4 separate regions of the Homo sapiens genome follow, and all the other regions are linked to region 1. The links are contacts of gene promoters, found by promoter capture Hi-C in blood cells and fetal thymus (Javierre and others, 2016). All regions are on one chromosome and are shown on one strand. The core of a region is centred on a gene start or on the middle of the fragment in contact, and the rest is flanking DNA. Distances in the headings are between cores, read along the strand shown.

Region 1 (2,511 bases), core at 5-2,504:
AAATCCACTCTTTCCCTTTATATGTCTTTTTCATTTCCCCGCATTTTCTCATTGTTCAAAGCCCTACTATTGTTGTAAACAGGGTGGCATTAAGACAAAGGTTTGCTCTTAGAAAAAGTTCAAGAAGGGAGCCCCCAAACTGTCTGACACGTTTAAGTGTCACTTGTAGTAACCATGTATCTCAATGTGATAAGCCAGAAAAAACAACGACTGCCTGTTCCTGGAACTGGGAAGTGGCCATGCCAAGACTTCCAGGAATAACAGTGCATGAATGAAACCACCTGGGAACCAGAGAATCAGCTTGGAGAAGCAGGAACTTTGTCAAATATTTAAAATAATAAGAGCTAACTTTCACTGAGTACTTTCTGTAGCGCCAGGCACTGCTCTAAGAATTTTACATTAATACTCTGTAGCTCATTTAATAGTTACACAATTTCAGAGATGAGGCAATGGAAAGAACATATATAAGAAGAAAGTGGCTGACAGTCCACAGACGTGAAGCAGTAGAGGCCGAATTTAAAGTCGGGGAGCCTGACTGGAGCTAATGGTCTTAGGAACCGTGCTAGATACCGCCACTATCTTTCCTAAGCTGGTATTGTAGAGGGCCTAGCATAGATGTGGGCTCCGGCGGACTTCATTGAATACTTACTGATAAATGACAGCTTGCAGGCTGTATTAACCATTCCTTCTAATAGCCCCACTACGCTGGCACATGCTCCTGAGCCCAGACTCTACCCAGGATTCAGGGCCGCTCTCTACCTGTAAAGCAGTGTAGCTAAGGGGAAGCTGAGCCCCGCAAGGCGTTTTCAGGCAGGGCACCCCTTGTCATTCGAATGGTTCTGGGGTGAGCCCGGGTGCCGCTGGGCCGCCTGGGGCCCCTTGCCGTGTACCTGCTCCACTTCCAGGGTCCCTTTCAGAGGCCTCTTGCATTTCTGGCCCCAACCTTCACCCCACATCCTCCACCCCCAGAGCAGCAAACACAACCTGCGGGCCCTCGCGCCGGTTCCCCACAAGTTGCCCTCCACACCTGACCCCGGCCCTGGCCCCAGCGCAGGCTCCGCGCAGTTCCCGCGCCCAAGTCCCCAGGAGGCGGCAGAGAAAGCCGCCCGCGCACCTCTGGCTGCCGCTGTTTCCGCTCCCGAGCGAGACAAGGTCCAGAGAGCCGGGGCCAGGCGATGGCTTCCTCTTCTGCGCCTCTAGACTGCCGGGCACAGCTGCTGCGCAACCTTCTCAGAAGTCAGCCGGAAAAGGGTCTGGGAGTAACCTTTGCGCCAACACCCGCGGCTCCTGGTTTCGTTTCCTGAATCTTACGTACACAACACGGTTTCCTTTTCCCGGTTCCCGCGCTGGCGCTCGGGGACCCACGAGACTACTGGAGGGTGAAGGAGCTGGAGGAGGGACTGCGCCCACCCCCTGGTGTGAGGCCCCTCCCCTACCCCCGACTTGCTTTCTTGCTCATTGGAGAGACTCCAGAGACGTTTGTCCGGTGGTTAAGGAGAGGAACTGGGACTCCGACACTAACTGGAACTGGAAAGTCATCAGCTGGGGAGTGGCCTCCCCCGGGAACTTTCTTTACTCTGGCTTTGACCTCCATCCCTCGGAAGCCCGTGGCTTTTCAAGGCGAGGGAGTAGAGGCAGCTTAAGACTACAAATGAGGAGGGGCCAAAATTGTTTTTCTTTATGGTGCCTTTTCTTTCTTGCTGTCTTGCTCTTTCTTTCCTTCTATTAAATTATGTGATATTACTTTTTAATTTTTAAGCAGTTATTTGAATGTTTTCGAGCTCACTTTATTTTTTTATAAATATTGTTCCTTTTTAAACTAAAATAGTTTTTATTCTGTGTATTTAAGTTATTTGTATGACATATCCATCAACTCCTATAATTACACATTTCCCCCCTTGGGGCAAGAGCAGCTATAATCTACTTATTTAGCATAAATCCTGAATACCACTATCATTAACTATAGCCCTCATGTTGTACATTAGGTCTTCCCATTTGTTCATCCTACGTGTTTGTAACTTTGTATACTTTTACCTAAATTTCCCCATTTCTCCTGACCCCACTCCAACCTGGATGACCCTGGATAAACCAGTGGTCCCCAACCTTTTTGGCACCAGGGACCAGTTTCACGGAAGAGGATTTTTCCATGGACCAGGGCCGGGTGGCAGACGGTTTCAGGATGATTCAAGCACATTACGTGTATTGCGCACTTTACTTCTATTATTATTACATTGTAATATATAATAAAATAATTATACAACTCACCATAATGTGGAATCAGTGGGAGCCCTGACCTTGTTTTCCTGCAATTAGAAGGTCCCATCTGGGAACGGTGGGAGACAGTGACACCAGAAGTGTGTTGCTTATGTCCAGTCTACTCCGTAATCTTGTTTTGGTTGCTGTCACTGCAGAAAATCCTGCTTCACAAAGATAGCATGTTGGAAATGGAAGCAGACTCTTCAGTGCTTTTGTGGCAATCTCAGGATATCCCACCTTGAGTTTAATCCAGAA
Region 2 (2,511 bases), core at 4-2,503, 2.7 Mb before region 1:
TTGAAACCTATCAGCTAATGCTTGCAAGCATTTCATGGAGCTTTGCTAGCAGGTTCTACCTTTATGATTTTGCAACTCCACAGGTTCAGTCGAGTTGTCAGATATACAAGATAACACAAATTCAGAAACTTCCTGTCCTTTTGTTTTTTGTCATTATTGAATTACTTTGGTTTTCTTTTATCACAATTATTCCATCTGAGTAGAATAAACATTCTCTGGTTGATCCGTGACATCCAGTTTCACTCTTTTAACCAATGAAGCAACTTGACAAAAGATTAATGGCCCATAGAATGTTTTGATTGGCTTACACGTCTTTTTAAAAAGTTTTAGGTTTGATGTCAACACATTCAAATCAGTATATTTAACATTTAAAAAATCATATGGCTTTTTGCAAGAAAAACTTGTAAGATCTGGCACACTGGGCCCTTCTTACATGGCCACAATCTGTTGGGGCTGAGTGGTTGCCTGCTGCATTTGCAACCAGCTTGCCACAAGTCCATTCATCCCTCTTCTTTCATTCATGGTCCCCGTGTGGCCCCTGCAGATGTTTGAATGTATGACCCCTGCTTTATTCCAGGAATGGAGTACATTCACTATTCCATTGTTCATTCCTGATGCTGCTTCACATTGGGGGGAAAAGCTTGAAGAAAAGGGGCTCAGGAAACATCTCCAATTCCTCCATCCAGAAAAGGAATTCAATTCTTCCTATTTTGTGTTTTCTTTTTAGAATATCATTTTTTATTTTGCTGTACCAACGTAAGTGAGAAAATAAAATGGAAACATGTAACAATAGAGAGTCTACTATGGACCAGAAAATATGCCAAGGAATTTAACTTAGTCTAATTTAATGTGCAGAAAATACTCACCCTTCTCCTGGTGAGTAATTTAAGGCTCAGGGAGATTTGGCAACATAGCCAAGGTCACACAGCCAGTAGGAGTTAAATTGCATGTGGGGTGTATTGGCCTTTAGATGGCTTTTCAGCCAGGGTGATCAACTCATCCTAGCTTATCAGGGACTTTCCTGGTTTACTACTGAAAGTTGTGTGTCCCAGGAAACCCCCTCACTCACAGACAAACAAGCAAACTTGGTCACTCTAACAGCCAAAGTTCCTCAAATTCTCAAATCCTGTACTGTCAGTAATCACTATTTTTCATGAGATTCCTGAAGGAGATATTCACACAAGAAACAATATCAGTTAAAAATTACATGCTGTTTTGTGACCTGGTAACCAGGATCATTAGTTCCAGGTTCTCAGATAAAATTGGGATGGACTCAAAACTTAGGCACAAGGACCAAAGAGGAATTCTTGACTGTCCCTAAATCTCAATATTAATACCTGCTGGCTACTGCAAGATGCGACACGCAAGTGAGAAGCAGCAAAGAGAAAGAACAGGATGGCCCAGCCTGTTGCAGTCAGTGTGCCCTGTCTCAGCTTGCCCATCCAGCCACAATGAAAGAAAGAACTGAAGAGTGGAACCTCCCAGGCCAGTGTAACTTTGCATGGTGCGGTAATCTCACCCATTAGTGAATGGGATCCAATCAGCTTTACAGAATCTAACCAATCACTTGAGAGCTCCTCATTCTTGTAAGAGGTCATTGAAGATTGTGGGGTCAGGGTGTCGAGAAGCTAAGTTTGCTTTGGGTAGGGAGACATACTGAGAAGTCCCCTCTCCATCTCCCTGGAGCTCCACAATGCCCAGTCTTAGTTCTCTCTCAGCCCCTAGTGTTAACAGAGAATACTTCAGACAACACAGGCCCTGGGTTATAGGAAAATTCCACCGTCTCATTCATGTGGCCTTTCCCTTGCTATTTATCCCTCTCTGAGACCAGTGAAATGGAAGTTTCATATTTTGCCCCACCCTACTCCAAGCTTCTGAAATGGGCCAGGACAGGACTGTAATTAAGTTTGCTTGAAAGCCACACGATGTCCTCATCCCAAAATTCATCCCCTATCCTATTTTCAAGCTCACCATAGACCTATCTTAGCTGTCCCCACCTGAAAAAAGTCACATGTTAGCATAAGTTGCCCCTAAATTTGAATAATATGGACCCCTCCCATTAGTATATTTCCATAGAGAAATGAAAGTTCAAAAATTTCACGGGTAATTAAATCCCATAGTAAACACTTGGACAATATTAAGCCCACCCCAAATTCACTGTTCAATGCTTGGTTTCTTTCCTTCAGCCTTTACAAAGTCTGGTCTGTGGGATCCAGGGCCATGAACCCAGGATGTGACCCCAACTCCATGTTCTTTCCACTGCTCTTCATTATAGTGGGAAGGTGAGATTAAAAATCACTGAAAACGAGTTAAATTAGAGAATTTGAATCATTTTATTAACAATGCAAGTGTAGAAATGTGTGTGGCATGGATAGGGGATCCTTTCCTTCTTCTACCCAACAAGTGCATTCCAGCCATTCTCTGAGGAGGGAAAAATGGGTGCAGACCTCACTGTTTCCCTCTGTGAACTGTTATCTCTGTGTTGATTCTTGATGCTCAGAAGTCCATCAC
Region 3 (2,511 bases), core at 7-2,506, 2.6 Mb before region 1:
CAAATACCTGTTACAATTAAACAATACTGAAAGTATTGTTACTTTTGATAACCTGGTATAGATGTTTCTTATTAACCCGCTGTAGAGTTGATCTACACATGCCAGTTACCATGGTCTTCTAAAAGCACTGTTCAAGCCCTAAAATTAACTCAGTTAAGACTCAGTTGTTTAATAACGTATCAGGAACCACCTGTCCCTCAGACTAAAAATCACTTCTCATTTTAACTACTCTAGCACTAAAAGTGAATAGCATAATAATGTATCTACTAGCGCTACTGCTAAACAGTCCGGGTCCCCTGAAACTTATCCCTAAACACAGTGCTTTCGTGCGGCATCTGCGCCTTACTTTTGCAGTCTGGGGTGACTGAGTCAACGTGACCGTGCGGAGCACCAAGCAGCCCCGGGTCCCCATGGCTACCGCCAGGGCAACGCTTCGCGGCCCGCTCCTCAGGGACCCTCAGGGGCGGCACCGGGAAATCAGCTTTGCGGAGAGGAACCGCAGGGCTCCGGGGACGGGCTAGGGCAGCCGGCGGGCAGCAGAGGCAAGCCTGGCAAACTCTTCCCGGCTTCTTCGCGGCGCTTGGGGCAGACGTCCTGGCGACACCAGGCCGCGTCGGTTCCCCTTCATCCTATTTTCCCTTTAACACGGTGGCTTGAGAACTTTATTTTGTGCTCACTCAAGAAAATTTTAAATGATTTTACAGATACAACCCCAAAGATGAAGCTCCAACAAACCCGCCACTACTCGAGCCTTTCTCACCGTCTTCCTCACAGGCCCCACCCCCTACCGCGAGGAGCACGAGCTGAGGGGAACACAAGCCCCCGTCGGGCACTCCCCGGCCTCGCCCCACCCCCCAGGCGCGCACCCAACCCATATAAGGCGAGGGGAGGCAATCGCGCCAGCTCTGCCTCCGCCTCGCGCGCCGTCCAGAGGGAAGGATTTGCAATAGACTTCCTCAGTTCATTTCTTCTTATTCCCTCCTCCCTTAAAGGGCCGTTTCCACAATAGTGAAAGGAACGCACCAGTAAACCACAATAATCATAAAAGATGACTGTAATTAAGACTCTTTCTGAAACCAGAAACCGCGAGTTCATGCCCCCACCTCAAGAGCCCGAGCTTCCCCCTCTCTGAACCGCCCCCACACCCGCTCCCGCGAGCTCCCGCTTACGCTTTCCGGGCGGCGCGCGACGCGCTCGCTCCGCCCCTCTGGCCCCGCCCCCGGCTCCCCTTCTTGGTCTCAGGAGAGCCAGCGCGCACAAGCAAGGGTGTGCGGCTCTGAGACGTGCGTTGCTGCTTGTGGGTGTGAGACATCCTAGCTCCTCTTCCCCTTCCGTGAGTCCCTCCTTTCCTCGCAGACCCCACTTGTCGTGGCTGGCTGCCGCCGCAGCTCTTGTGCGAAGCCAGCAGTGCGCGTGCGCGCGGGCACGGGCGCGCGACCGTCGGGTCCCCGCGCTCCCTCCCCCTCCCGCTCCTCTATAACTTGGCTGGCGTGGAGGAGGCGCCGCCGGAGTCGGAGGGCGGGGAGCTAGGAGGAGGGAGCTCGAGAGTTGTGGAGACTAGTGACTGGGAGAAGTCGCAGCCCGCTCAGGCCCGCGCCTTCCCGCTCCCCGTCTTCCTCTCTCACACACCTACTCCGCCCTCCGCCCCAGCCCGCGCGCTAGCTCCTTCTCTCGCCCGGGGTTCCTGCCGGTAGCTCTCCGGGTCTTGGCGCGGCGGGGGCGCCCCGGGGGTGCCCTCGCCCTCCCGTTGCGGGCGGGCGGGCGGTATGTGGCGCCTGGTGCCCCCGAAGCTGGGCCGCCTGTCCCGCTCGCTGAAGCTGGCGGCGCTGGGCAGCCTGTTGGTGCTGATGGTGCTGCACTCGCCGTCGCTGCTCGCCTCTTGGCAGCGCAACGAACTGACCGACCGGCGCTTCCTGCAGCTCAATAAGTGCCCGGCGTGCTTCGGCACGAGCTGGTGCCGCCGCTTCCTCAACGGGCAGGTGGTATTCGAGGCGTGGGGCCGCTTGCGCCTGCTGGACTTCCTCAACGTGAAGAACGTGTACTTCGCGCAGTACGGCGAGCCCCGCGAGGGCGGCCGCCGCCGAGTGGTGCTCAAGCGCCTCGGCTCGCAGCGCGAGCTGGCGCAGCTCGACCAGAGCATCTGCAAGCGGGCCACCGGCCGGCCCCGCTGCGACCTGCTGCAGGCCATGCCCCGGACCGAGTTCGCGCGCCTCAACGGCGACGTGCGTCTGCTCACGCCCGAGGCGGTGGAGGGCTGGTCGGACCTGGTGCACTGCCCCTCGCAGCGCCTTCTCGACCGCCTGGTGCGCCGCTACGCGGAGACCAAGGACTCGGGCAGCTTCCTGCTTCGCAACCTCAAGGACTCGGAGCGCATGCAGCTGCTGCTGACCCTGGCCTTCAACCCCGAGCCGCTGGTGCTACAGGTAGGCGCGGAGCCAGGGCAGGGGGCGTCCTGGGAGGGGCCGCGCGTGGGAATCAGAGTCGGGAGAAGTGGCTCAGCCAGCGCTTGCC
Region 4 (2,511 bases), core at 8-2,507, 2.4 Mb after region 1:
GAAATCACGACTTTGGTGTATATATATATTTTTTATTTATTTATTTATTTATTTTGAGACGGAGTCCCACTCTGTTGCCCAGGCTGGAGTGCAGTGGTGCAGTGGTGCGATCTCGGCTCACTGCAAGCTCCGCCTCCTGGGTTCACGCCATTTTCCTGCCTCAGCCTCCCAAGTAGCTGGGACTACAGGTGCCCGCCACCACACACAACTAATTTTTTTGTATTTTTAGTACAGATGGGGTTTCACCATGTTAGCCAGGATGGTCTCAATTTCCTGACCTCGTGATCCGCCCGCCTCGGCCTCCCAAAGTGTTGGGATTACAGGCTTGAGCCACCTTGCCCGGCCATATTTTTCTAACATACAATACAATAAAATGTACAAGTAAAAATTGCTTTCAAATGTTCTTCCCTGTAACAGTAAACATAGTTTTTACATCAATGGGGTAGCCTTACAATATCTGAGAAAACACTAATAAAAGGGAATAATCTGATCCCACCTTTCCTCCAAAGATGGCTCTAAGGAAAAATGTAAATAGGGAAGTTTTGTATTGAGGGCCTCATTCCTCATCCATGTTCTCCTTCCTTTAAACAGTAATCACATAAATCACTGGGGGTGGGGCCTGGGTATCGAGTAATTCTAATATGAGCTAGGGGTAAAAGCCATTATGTCATTTCCCTTTCAAAAGACATTTCTCCTCAACAATGAACCTCATTCCTCCTACCACTTCCATAGGGCCAGCCTTTATGCACTGAGAGAAAGCCAATTTTCAGGCTGTCCTAAATTCATACTACATCAATATGTCTATACATCCACTACTGACAGGCTTGTTTTACTTATTTCATTCTTCCTTTCTTCTTATTCTGTTTCGTTATTTTATTAGCTAAAATAAATGACTTTTCTGATTTTGGAAGCAAATGTTCAACGAAAGAAAATTTAGAAAGTAAAAATAAGTAACAAAAGTAAACACTTTAAAGGCCCATAATACCACTTTTAACACTGCAGGACATATATCAAAACCCTTTCTAGAATATGAGTCAGAGTGTTATTTAGAAAATGGTATGTGCTGAATGCACCACTGTAAAAGAAGGAGAGATGCTTTTTCCTCCCTCACTCCCAAGCAAATTTCGTGTTCTAAGTCTGAGCTTCCTAGCCTCAGCCACTTGTTAATAAGTATAGTTGCAGAGCTACAAACCAGAAGCCAGGAGGTGCTAGAAAGCTAACACTCTATCCACCCAGAAAGAGACTAGTCCTGAGAGTGGAGGCCTAAGCCAGGAGGACAGAAGTTTTGCCAAGGAGGAGACCAGTGGCATTGGGTTCAAGAAATGGTGAAGATCTATGCCCCACTCCCAAACAGTCCTCAAGCAGTGACCTGGACTGAACCCCAGGTTTTTGGCCTTGGCACACAACAAAAAATTCCCGTGCCCAGCTTGGTAGAGGAAAGGAAGCTGCCCTCTTAAAAAGGGCAATGAACATCCTAAAATCCTCAACAGCTTTATAAATCAAGAAGAGCCTCCTAAAACTCAACTGAGATGGAATGTCCTGCTAGTTGTGGTCGGTGGGAGGGGACAAATTGATCTAATTTGGAATTGTTAAGGCCCATTGACCTAAACCACCAGATTTCTGGAGCCTCTTGATAAGAGGGAGTTGAGAGGGCTTCTTATAAGATCTGGGAATTTAATGGATAAATTTAAGGAGAAATTAGGAAAGTAGGGATCAAATCTGGATGAGATTCTGTCAAAATGAAGGTACAATTTTTATCTTAGCAAGGAAAAAATTTTTATCTTAGCAAGGAAAAAATCTAAAGTGGGTAAGAGTTGTCATTCATTTAAAAAGAAAGAAAATAGCAGTCACTTCTGTTAAAAGAAGAATGTATCTAGTCATTTTTATGGTTATAGAGTGGCCTCATCTTTATCTTGTTCCAAACATAGTCACAGAGTGGCCTTGTCTGAACATTGTTTATATTCTGTAAGCATTGTTAGTGTTCACTTGGGAACGTCATGATCCAGCAGCCAGCAGCACAAATTTTTACTTTCCTAAACAAATAAAGGAATGTATCACCACTCAGACCAAACTAATATTTACTTTATATATATACACACACATACAAATAAAATATTATGCTATACATACTATTGGATAATATGCTTTATATAATGACATAGCATCAGTAGCTTTCCATGACAGTGTTCATCAGCATCACTTTAAATGTAGGAATGGAGCTCCATCATGCAGATGAGCCAAAACGTGTTTCATTAATCCCCCATTGCTCAACATTTAACATGTTTTCCTTTGTGTGTGTATGTGTGCGTGTGTGTGTGTGTGTGTGTGTGTATTAGTTTGCTAAGGCTGCTGTAACAAAATACCACAGACTGCATGGCTTAAATAAGAGAAATTTCTTTTCTCACAATTCTAGAGGCCAGAAGTCCCAAATCAAAATGTCAGCAGGATTGATTTCATTCTGAGGCCTCTCTCCTTGACTTGTAGATGGCTTTCTTCCTCCAGTGTCTTCAC

Evidence for each region. Contacts are between HindIII fragments. The CHiCAGO score rates a contact against its expected background, and 5 or more counts as called.
Region 2: a contact is called between a fragment that was not itself captured here and the fragment with the promoter of PLSCR1 in region 1, in 2 of 17 cell types (M0 macrophages and M1 macrophages). The highest score is 6.7, in M0 macrophages.
Region 3: the fragment with the promoter of DIPK2A here is called in contact with the fragment with the promoter of PLSCR1 in region 1 in 2 of 17 cell types (monocytes and M0 macrophages); the score reaches 8.6 in monocytes.
Region 4: a fragment that was not itself captured here is called in contact with the fragment with the promoter of PLSCR1 in region 1 in 1 of 17 cell types (M0 macrophages); the score reaches 6.5 in M0 macrophages.

Annotation. Positions count from the first base shown.
Region 1 is chr3:146,543,353-146,545,863 of GRCh38, forward strand. It overlaps PLSCR1 (phospholipid scramblase 1), which reads right to left and starts at 1,255. Exons shown (of 9, transcript NM_021105.3): 1 at 1,115-1,255. RefSeq lists an enhancer at 1,105-1,584. The HindIII fragment of the contact is 8,607 bases long and covers 1-2,511 here.
Region 2 is chr3:143,850,099-143,852,609 of GRCh38, forward strand. No RefSeq gene overlaps it. Among named protein-coding and RNA genes, the nearest start is that of SLC9A9, 2.9 kb to the left of the region's middle. The HindIII fragment of the contact is 1,231 bases long and covers 639-1,869 here.
Region 3 is chr3:143,970,567-143,973,077 of GRCh38, forward strand. It overlaps DIPK2A (divergent protein kinase domain 2A), which reads left to right and starts at 1,257. Exons shown (of 3, transcript NM_173552.5): 1 at 1,257-2,423. The coding sequence starts at 1,767. RefSeq lists enhancers at 563-1,143, 623-732, 1,003-1,092, 1,144-1,724 and silencers at 823-872, 1,203-1,852, 2,343-2,511. The HindIII fragment of the contact is 6,379 bases long and covers 1-2,511 here.
Region 4 is chr3:148,949,817-148,952,327 of GRCh38, forward strand. All of the region lies in intron 2 of LOC107986045 (a long non-coding RNA gene), which reads left to right. Among named protein-coding and RNA genes, the nearest start is that of GYG1, 40 kb to the right of the region's middle. The HindIII fragment of the contact is 6,256 bases long and covers 1-2,511 here.